2 separate regions of the Homo sapiens genome follow, and region 1 is linked to region 2. The links are contacts of gene promoters, found by promoter capture Hi-C in blood cells and fetal thymus (Javierre and others, 2016). All regions are on one chromosome and are shown on one strand. Each heading gives the region's core, a stretch centred on a gene start or on the middle of the fragment in contact. The rest is flanking DNA. Distances are from core to core; before and after follow the strand shown.

Region 1 (4,889 bases), core at 839-3,338, 1.8 Mb after region 2:
TTTTAAAAGTTCAAACAGCTATTAAGCTATACTTTGCTTTGGCACTAGCTCCCCCTCCAGACCAATGTACTAATATAACAGCATTTTTAAAAATAATAAGTTAACAGTTTTTTCCAATCCACTGGCAAATTTTAAGATTCACCACTTTTAAGGACACTCCAATTGCGTAAAAATAACTGGTAAGAATTTGCAACAAAACAATGCAGGATGTAATCAGAATTAGTTTTGTTTTGTTTTTTTCGATTCCATACATCTTAAACAGAACTGATTTGTAGGAAAACAACTTCAGGTGACTTTTTAAATTCAAAAATATCCTCAAAATATAACCTATATAAGGCCGTACTTTATGGAAATTATTTTGAATCACTATCCTATTACACAAGACACTCTTCAAGTTAACTCACAACTTGACCAAAGATACATTTTTGCATCTGTTTCTGCAATCTATGCAAGTTTCATTCCAGCTGTTCAGCTCTTGAATTCAAATAGAATTCTCAATTTATAAGGCAGCAAAAAGAAAATCCATGTCTTGGAACTACCTTTGTACGTGTCTTATAGCCTATTCATCTCTAACTCCCTGCATTTTTTACACACTAAACCTGTGAAATCACAATTACAAATGCTTGAATTCCCACCTTTTCAATACTACTGTAGTATTTACAAATCAAGTAATTAAGATTTTCTATACACATACCAGATTTCACAAGGACAGCAAGGTACAGGGCCTTATTATTTGGCATAGGGTTTTAAGATGTTTTTACAGTTATTTTAAAGAGCAGAGACTACAACTCCATTATTTCTCATATATCTGATATACTGTAGTGCTTAAATAATAATTTCTCTCCTAAAATACTTTCTATATGATGCACCTATTTAAAGAATTAGTCATAAAACATAGAATGTAAATTTAATCAAGAAAATAAACATGCACCTAACCGCCGGAATAACAAGAAAAAAAAAATCTATAATGAAACCTGCCTACAGTTTTCATAGAGGCAAGCCAGTTAAGTCAGTTACTTGAGATGCGTTTAACTCTAAACTGACACAAAACTTGTGTTGAATTTGTTCCGCAAAACCTTGAAATTTGGGGTTATGTACTACAGAATTTGGCTTTTCTGGGTCCACCTTCCTGAGTGGGTTTAAATAAACTGTGAATAATTAAAACATAGGAAGGAAAAAAACACCACCTGTCCGTGCCTTTAACCAAGGCCTCAATCTATATATTATATGGCAAAATGCTAAAATAAAAGCTCATCCGGGACAAACCCTAAGCATGACACTGCCACTTAAGAAATACACTGCGTCTCTGAAGATTGCAATCCCCACTGTGAAGAAAGAACAGGTGCTGCACCCGACAACCCACTCAATCCTGCAGGACAAACCTCCTAGAACTGATAAATATGGACTCATTTAACCTTCCCAAATAAGTTGATACTCAAAAGCCGCCAGCTCGTCATTTGCACATCAAAAGGGAGTACAGCTGCACTCAAGCCTTTAACTGCCCTGCATCAGTCCCTCGCGGATCTTTGTGAGGGTCCACTCCCTGCTTTCTAGCCCGAGCAGCACTCAGAAAGAGCCCATAACGCACGGGCATCTTCCTCCCCACAAACCGCGACTCCAGGGACCGAGCTGCTGACGAAGGGAAGGTAGGTGTGGAGGGGAAACGACGGACACCTCCCACCCCCGCCCCCAACCCTTCTCCTTCCCTAGGCTTTGGCCCCTGCCCTAGGCAAGGATGCGCGACGCCGAGGGCAGCAGCGGCGCAGCTCCGCGTCCCGGCTGGAGAGGCGGGCGCCCCTCACCCTCTGCCCGCGCCCCCGGGGCTGCGCCAAGGCATCCGCCAGAGCGTCCCGGGGGCTCCCTCCCCACTTTTCCGAGAGCCGCTGGTTAACCGGCAGCAGTTGCAGCAACAGGCCCGGGTGAACGAGCAGGGACAGCCGCGGAGCCTCCTCAGATCCCGCGCGCAGCCCAGCCCAAGACCCCGAGGCGCGCGGGGCCCGGCTCCCAAAACGCCCCCTTACCCCAGGCGGGAGCAGAGGCGGTCTCCGCCGCTCCCCGTCGCAGCTGCCAAAGCCACAGCCCTCAGCCGCAGCTGCCCCACGATGGGGGAGTGGGAAGGGTGGCTGAGTGGAGGATGCTACTCCCGACCGAACGGAGAGGAAGAAACGGAAACAGGAACCGCCGCCGCCGCTTAACGGAGCCTTCGGCGCCACTGACTGAGGCAGAGCGCGAGGCGGCGCGAGCCGGGCAGTCGCTGACAGCGCGAGACCGAGAGCGAGCTGGGTCCAGGGCGCGCGACCCTGAGCAGTGCCGGCCCCATTCCGCGGGGAGACGAAGGGACGGGTCGGCTGGGGCCAGGCGGCGGGGGTGGGATGGGGAGGGGGCCTGGAGAGGAGGGAACCGGCTGCTCGGGTCGGCCGGAGATAACGCGCGCACGCGCCGGAGCGGCTCTGACAACGAGCGCAGGCGGGGAAGCCTCGGCCAGCGCCGGCGTGCGCGCGCGAATGGGGGAGCGCGCCCCTCGGCGTTCCTGGCTTCTGGGAGAGGGCGCGCATGCGCCGGCCGCTGCCACCTACGGCGACCCTGGCATGTGCCAGGGATTCTCCCCGCCCCCTTCCTCGCTGCGCCGGTGGAGAGCGTAGCAGCAGCATCCACCGCCTAGCAGAGCCGCGGGCCACAGCGGGACGGCACAGTTCCAGCAGGGCAGCGGCTGCGCACGCCGGCTCCGGCTCGCACACAGGCGTAGGCCGCCCTCTACCGCCTGAAGGCCGGAGGCTGAGCGGGGCGCGAGCGGATCCTGGATCCCGGGAGGAGACTCGCCTCCAGAGAATGCTGTGCTCCCTACAGCGCCGGGAATGGACCGGCCCGTGCCAGCTCAGTCGGCGGCCCTAGGGGGCACCCGCACTAGAGGTTTTGAAGCTGGCTCCTTGCTACTTTTAGGGGTGCGCGCTGCTGCTGCTCAGCCCCTGCAGCCCGCATTTGGCCGCTTGACTGCTGCTTCCAGCGCGATCCTACAATGGCATCGCTCCCCCAGGAGACTCAGCGAAGCCCTACTTTATCTTGTAAGAGCTGTTTCCACATTCACTCGAAGAGAAAGACCCCCCCCACGAGGGCCTGAGTTCGATGCCCGGCCTCTCCCGACCCGCGGCTGCGACAGCCCCTCTGAGGCGGAAGTTTATTTAGTACGGGAAAGAGAACAGCACGGGGAGAGGGGAGAGGCTTTGCCCTAGGATGCGTCCTACCCGCTCGGACTCGGAAAATTCCCGGCGCCCGCGATGCAGAGCAGTGGACCGAAGGGCTGCCCCAGAGCAGCCCAGACCGCCAGCTGAGCGGGAGGACCGGAGCGCGCCGCCCCAGCACACAAAGTAGTCGCGGGACGAGGGGTGCCGCCGAGGCCAATCAGAGCTGCGCGCCGCGTGAGTGGAGTGCGAGCCGGCCAATCAGAGGGCCGGAAGATGAGCTTCCCGTTCCAAACTCTTCCCTGTAGCCTTGGGACCCAGATCCCAAGCCTGGGGCGCTTTACGGTGGGAGAGCGAAATGGTGCCCTTAAGACAAGAATCATTTCTCTAGGCTTGGGCATTTTAAAGTACATACCGGGGATACTTATCCCAAAGCAAGTAGCGGCGGCCTTTTAGATGTTAAATATTAAAAGATCACAGAAAGGAGATTTAAGAGGCAGTGGCCTGTCAAGGTTGCAATCTGCCTAATATTCATAAATTCACATATTTATTGAGACCTTCTTATGTACCAGGAACTCTATCACAGATACACAAATAAGGTACTGCTGATTCAAAAGAAAATCCCTTGTCCTCAAGCAGCTCAGGTTGTGAGGGAGGCTTTCCTAGACCTTGAGACTCGTATTTATTGTCAGCTCTTTAAACAAAAAGCACTCTATGAAGTGCTGTACTTTACAGTCGTTTTTATGATTATCTCCCTGTGAGAAAAGAAAATTGAAAGGAAAGTAGAGTGACTTGTCCAAGATCACACAGAAGATGTACTAGCAGAGCCAGAATTATGTTCTAGCTCAGTTTGGGTGTCATCATTCAATAAAATAATTCAATAACAATTTGTAAATGCATGGATGCTCTCTCCCATGAGATTTCTGTACTAAACGTATAAGCAGGACAAAATTCTGGTATAAAAGTGACACACTTTGGTTGTTGGAAATGAACACAAATTTTAGACTTATGTGGGATTAAAGGTAAAAATCTTACCAGTCATACTTTAGATAATTTTTAGAAGTCAGAGGTGGGGTGGATATTTACTTCTTAGTTTAAACACAGCATTTTAAAAATATTTTAACAAGCAAGCGTAACTTTTTTTTTTTAAGATAGAAGAAGCAGGAAGGATCACTTAAGCCCAAGAGTTCCAGGCTGCAGTGCCACATCGTGCCTGTCAGTAGCCACTTCAGCCTGGGCAACATAGCAAGACCCTCATGTCTAAAATTAAAAATAAAATTTAAAAAAAAGAACTACTTCTAGTTGGTTAATAATCATGATAGTTTACACTGTATAATACTTTGAGATACCCAAGTACAAAGCTTTACATTTGCCTAAAAATTCCATTTTTGTCTGGTGTTCCATTTTTACTTCCAAAATCCTAGGAATTAAAGCACTTATTTTCCCTACCTCCTTCCAACTGAAAAAAAAAAAAAAAAAAACCTGTCCTAGGAATGTTTTGCCCAGGATTTGGTGCATTTGTATAGAACAGTATAATATACGTTAAAATAACAAATAACTTTGGTATCTCTTGAATACACTCAGAAACTAATTCTTCAGTGGTTTTGAAGTCTGCTTTGTTGAATCAATGTGCTTCTCCACCTGTGATGGAACATTATTATCAAAACCCTTTCCAAGGCAGGCTCAGGATTTAGCTGCCATCCCAAAACT
Region 2 (5,198 bases), core at 2,602-5,101:
CCTCTCATATATTGCTGGTGGAAATGCAAAGTGGTTCAGCCACTTCAAACCCAGCCTGACAATGTATTAGTTTCCTATGCCAATGTAACAAATTGCCACAAATTTAGTGGCTTAAAACAACAGAAATTATTTTACAGTCCTATAGGTTAGAAATCTGGCATATGTCTCCCTTGGCTAAAATTACTGGCAGGGCTGCTTTCTTTTCTGGAGCCTCTTCAAGATTCTAGACACCACTCATATTCCTTAGTTTGTGGCCTGCTCTCCTCCATCTTCAAAGCCAGCAACTTTGCACTTCTCTGACCAATTGTTACATCTTTTTTTCCTGACTCTACTCTTCTGCCTCTCTCTTTCCTTTTTTAAAGATTCTGTGATACACTGGGACCACCTGAATAATCCACAATAATCTCCCTAAAGTCATCTGATTAGCAACCTAAATAAGCCTTTGCCACTTAAGCAAACATATTCACAGGTTCCAGGGATTAGGATATCTTTGAAGACCTTTATTCTGTCTACCACAGATAGGTCTTTTTTTAATTTTAAGATAAAATTAGGCTATACCTACCATATTCCATCTACTTAAGAGAAACAAAAACTTAGGTTTACACAAAAACCTATTTGCAAAGATTTACAGCCACTTTATTCAGTCACAAAAAACCTGAAAACAACTCAAATGTCCTTCAACTGGTGAATGGATAGGTGATGGAACTGTTCTTTACCTTGATTGTGGTAGTTGCACAGCTCTCTGAGTTGGAATTGTACAATGAAAAGTTAACTTCATTTCATGTAAATTAGAGTTAAATATTTTTTAAAGAAAAGAAGCAATTATATCATTTCTCATCCACCAGATTAGCAAAAATTTTAAAATCTTACGATGCCCAGTGTGGGCAAGAATGTGAAGCCACTGTCACTCATACTGTTTGCAGGAATGTAAATGATTACAGCATTAAAAAGGGTAATTTGGCTGTAGCTAGTAATGTTGAAAACACATATCAACCTATTATCAGCAATTCCACTTATAGGTAGGTATACATACATTCTAGGAAAGCGTCCACACATGCGCTCAAGGAGACATACACAAAGATATTCATTAAACATTGTTTGAAATATTAAAAAACTGAAAATTCTTCAGTAGGGGAATGAATTGCAGTTAGTAGTTATTAAAAAAGAAAACGGAAAAAATCCATGACAGAAAGAATCCTGCCAGTTAAGTGATTTGGAAAAGGCAACTTATTGGTTTATCTAACAATGAGACATCCTGAGAAGAGCACTGAATTTAGAATATGGAGACTTAGAATATGGAGAACAGCATTTTAGCATTCATGTAGTTCCAAGTCTGCCCCTAACTAGCAGTCAGACTACGGATTACTTAACTCCTGCAAGCCTCACTTTCTTTTTCATGGAAAATGAAGAGGTTAGACTATATAACCACTAAGATTACTTCCAACTCAACGATCCTATGATTCAGTAAGTATATGATCAAAAATCATAAGGGCTGGGCGCGGTGGCTCACGCCTGTAATCCCAGCACTTTGGGAGGGCGAGGCGGGCGGATCACGAGGTCAGGAGATTGAGATCATCCTGGCTAACACGGTGAAAACCCGTCTCTACTAAAAAAAAAATACAAAAAATTAGCAGGCGTGGTGGCGGGCACCTGTAGTCCCAACTACTCGGGAGGCTGAGGCAGAAAAATGGCGTGAACCCGGGAGGCAGAGCTTGCAGTGAGCCGAGATTGCGCCACTGCACTCCAGCCTGGGCGACAGCGCGAGACTCCGTCTCAAAAAAAAAAAAAAAAAAAAATTATATTCTGGCGGTGGCTCACGCCTGTAATCCCAGCATTTCAGGAGGCCGAGGCGGGTGGATCACCTGAGGTCAGGAGTTCGAGGCCAGCCTGGCCAACATGGTGAAACCCCGTCTCTACTAAAAATACAAAAATTAGCCAGGTGTGGTGGCGAGCACCTGTAGTCCCAGCTAGTCGGGAGGCTGAGAGCAGGAGAATCACTTGAACCAGGGAGGTGGAGACTGCAGTGAGCCAAGATCGCGCCACTACACTCCAGCCTGGGCAAGAGCGAGACTATGTCTCACAAAAAAAAAAAGAAAAGACAATTATATTCTATATAAGCACATATGTCAAGATACTATTTTTTTCTAGACACTCTGAAATCAGAAAATATCAGAGAAATAGGGCATTTCAGTAAATAATATATAAAATTGATCAAATTTCTTGGAATGGGTGATAAATTTTATTTTTTCCATGACACAGCCCTCAGGAGATCCTGAAAACACGTGCCCCTGTGATGAGATTTTTAATCAAAATCATAATTCAAGATCATGTAAAAGCTAAACCCACTGTACTGACTTGGGTCACCCTCAAGTAGAACTTATATATTCTCTCCCGTTTTAACATTCTAAAACAAATTAATGTTAATCAATCCACCTTAATTTGTCAAGTTCAAGTCCGTCTTGCCAAAACTAATTCAGGTACATGGTAAAATTTACCAGATTTTTAAAGATAAAATAATGAATTGCTTTTCCTATTTTTGCCTGTTTTATCTATAAATCTCTTACATTATAATTTAATAGCTCATCCTGCCGCAAATAGAAAGCCTATAAAACCTATCCACAATAGCTATGTCCACAGGGATCTAGTAAAAAAAAAAAATCGTAGTTCTTAATTCAAGGAAGCTTATTTAATAAGTTTCATTACCACCAATACTTCAAAGACACCAATAACCAACACGTCATTTGTTCCTATTGCATAATTTAACAGGTTATTAACTTCTGGTATAATCCAAAAGCATAATTAGTAAACTATCATTAAAACATGATATTGCTTTTTTAAAAAATCAGAAATATTAACACCTTTCACTGCGTCAGTCAAATCAAAATTTCAAAATTTTTGTTCAACTGACTTTCCAAATCTAAATTCTTACTATTCTAAACGAGTATGGAGACAAAACACACACTCCATACTACATCTAAAAACTTCCTAGCCATCAGATTTTAATTTTAGCATAAACTGCCAAGAAAAACCTTTTGACCGAAACCTACATTCCGTACACATTACTGTATGTCAATCAACAGAAGGTGAGTTATGATCATTAGAAAGTTACATAATTTACTACAAAGATCGTTTAAAGCAAACTTCATTAAACGTAGGTTATAACAATTTACATGCTTCAAAGTTCAACGTGCAACCTTAAAGTATCAGAAACCATGAACAAAACTAGGCTTTTCTTTTAAAGTGGTCACAAGGAAGCAGGAACTGTTTGCGTGTTTAAGAACGCAATGAGCAGCAGAATACCAGCAGCTGAGTCAGGCAGAGGAACGCTGACTACATTCTGACTTCTAAAGGAAAGCGTTCCCTCGCCGATTTCCCAGACCCGGCCGGGAGAGTCCCGCGCGTCGCGACCTCGGAGAGAGGGCGCAGGGGGCAGACGACTCCCCGCCGCGCCCCCTGCACCTCGGGCTCGGCTGGCTGTGGCCCGCGCCAAGGTGCATGCCCAGCCAAGCAGAAGGAGCGGGCACCGCGCAGGCAGCGTTGCTCCGAGGGACAAAGGTTGGGCTCACACCCTCCACGGCCGCAGCTCGCGCGCCTGAGGAAGCCCGCCTGGCTGCCAGGGGTCTCCCGCTGGCCGGAGTTTGCGCAGCGTGTGGGGGAAGGGGAGCCCGGCCGCCCGCCCCTCCCCCGCCGCGCTCCCAGGGACCTGTTGATTAAGATCTCTACAGCCCAGCCGCCGCCGATCCGCCTCTTACCTCCACGCCTCGGCTCCGCGGAGCCTCCCGCCCCGGCCGCTCCTACGCACTGCAGAAGCGACAGCCCTCCGGCGGCCCTTGAAATTCCGGATAAAGAATCCAGAAACTCCCGACTCCCCACCTCAGAATCCTTAGTCCCCGCCCCCGCCCCACCGCCTGCCTCCTCCGTCGCCGCCGTCACCGCCGCAGCCGCCAGCAACTCCACTTCTAGACCGCGCGAGACCGGCCCCTGCGGCCGCCGCGAGACCGCGCACGCGCCCCCGGGACTCTGGCGCAGTGGGCGCGCGGATCCGAGTCCCACCCCGCCCGTGAGAGGCTGGCGCGGCTTGCCCAATCCCGAGCCGGAGCGGAGAGAGCGCCCGCTCATTGGTCCTCTCCGCAGCTCCAGCCGGGTGCGCGCAGTCGCGCGCCTCTAAGTCTAAAACGCGGACTGCTCCGGGCTAGCTGGCCCGGTAGAGCCCCTTCGGGATTTGGCCGGCGGGCTTTGTGGGGACGCGAGGCTTCCCTGGGTTTCTACATCCCTTGGCTCTTGTCTCTGGATGACGTATCCTGAAGAAAATCTGATTCCTCTTGAAGAGATTCCTCATGTCCTGTCAAGTTAGTCACCCAATCTAACATTTGTTTTTTTTAAAAAATGACATAAACACCTGGATGTGTGCAGTGTCCCGCAGAAGACTGCATAAAGCCAGCAGCTGCACTGATTTCTGAAAACCAGAAAGCAAGGATAGCAAGGACTAGAACTATTTCCCAGAAGTCTCCCGAAGGGACAGAGTTACGCAGATCAGCCCGTGCTCCGGGCATGGCTGGCGCCCTCGGGACCTGGATGTGCCACCCTTGGAATGGGGCAGGACTCAGGCGGGTGCGGGCGGAAGTCAGAGCAGATTGGAGGACGTTCTAAGGAGAAACACCAGCAATGTGTCTCGACACTTGCAATAAAAGCCCTCGGATGGTCTCTGTCTTGACAGTACCTTCCGAGCAAGCCCATTCCACATTTGAACACTTGCAAGGTTTGTTAATCGACCTCTCCTTCTATGAGGCCAAACTATGCCTGTGACTCCAGCCCGGGGGCACAGTTTCCCCCAGGGGCACAGTCCTCCCTCAAAGCCTTCGTATATGCCATTTCCATTTCTCTCGGTTTTCCTCATTTTGTCCCACGGTGTTTTTCCATCTCGCAATGTCCTCAGGTCCTGATTTTCAAGCTCTTTCACATTCTTCCCCATTACGCTCCTCTGGACAGCCTATGGGTTGTGGTGTCCCTCACTAAGGACACTGTGATGGCCTGAACGAAGCAAACCGTTGTTCCTGGTGGTGAAGATCTTTGGGGATGCCTACCCTTCCCAGATTTGTTATCCTTCTCAAATCTGATCAGCATTCTGTCCAAGTGTTTAATAAGACAGAGCGGAGGACAGAACTCTGCTGCATGCCACTAAAGACCTTAATGCTCCT

What was found. The method cuts DNA at HindIII sites, captures the fragments that hold promoters and counts their contacts. A CHiCAGO score of 5 or more calls a contact.
Region 1: a contact is called between a fragment that was not itself captured here and the fragment with the promoter of PALS1 in region 2, in 2 of 17 cell types (naive CD4 T cells and M0 macrophages). The highest score is 7.0, in naive CD4 T cells.

What each region holds. Positions count from the first base shown.
Region 1 is chr14:65,410,347-65,415,235 of GRCh38, reverse strand. FUT8 (fucosyltransferase 8) reads right to left here and starts at 2,506. Exons shown (of 11, transcript NM_001371533.1): 1 at 2,022-2,506. It overlaps FUT8-AS1 (FUT8 antisense RNA 1), which reads left to right and starts at 2,619. Exons shown (of 1, transcript NR_024334.1): 1 at 2,619-4,644. RefSeq lists enhancers at 1,201-1,765, 3,008-3,327 and silencers at 1,688-1,877, 1,888-2,007, 2,308-2,467. The HindIII fragment of the contact is 4,909 bases long and covers 1-4,542 here.
Region 2 is chr14:67,240,088-67,245,285 of GRCh38, reverse strand. PALS1 (protein associated with LIN7 1, MAGUK p55 family member) reads right to left here and starts at 3,851. Exons shown (of 15, transcript NM_022474.4): 1 at 3,753-3,851. It overlaps LOC124903330 (a long non-coding RNA gene), which reads left to right and starts at 3,877. Exons shown (of 2, transcript XR_007064217.1): 1 at 3,877-5,198. It also overlaps a transcript of GPHN not described here. RefSeq lists a silencer at 3,270-4,239 and an enhancer at 4,220-4,499. The HindIII fragment of the contact is 3,073 bases long and covers 2,684-5,198 here.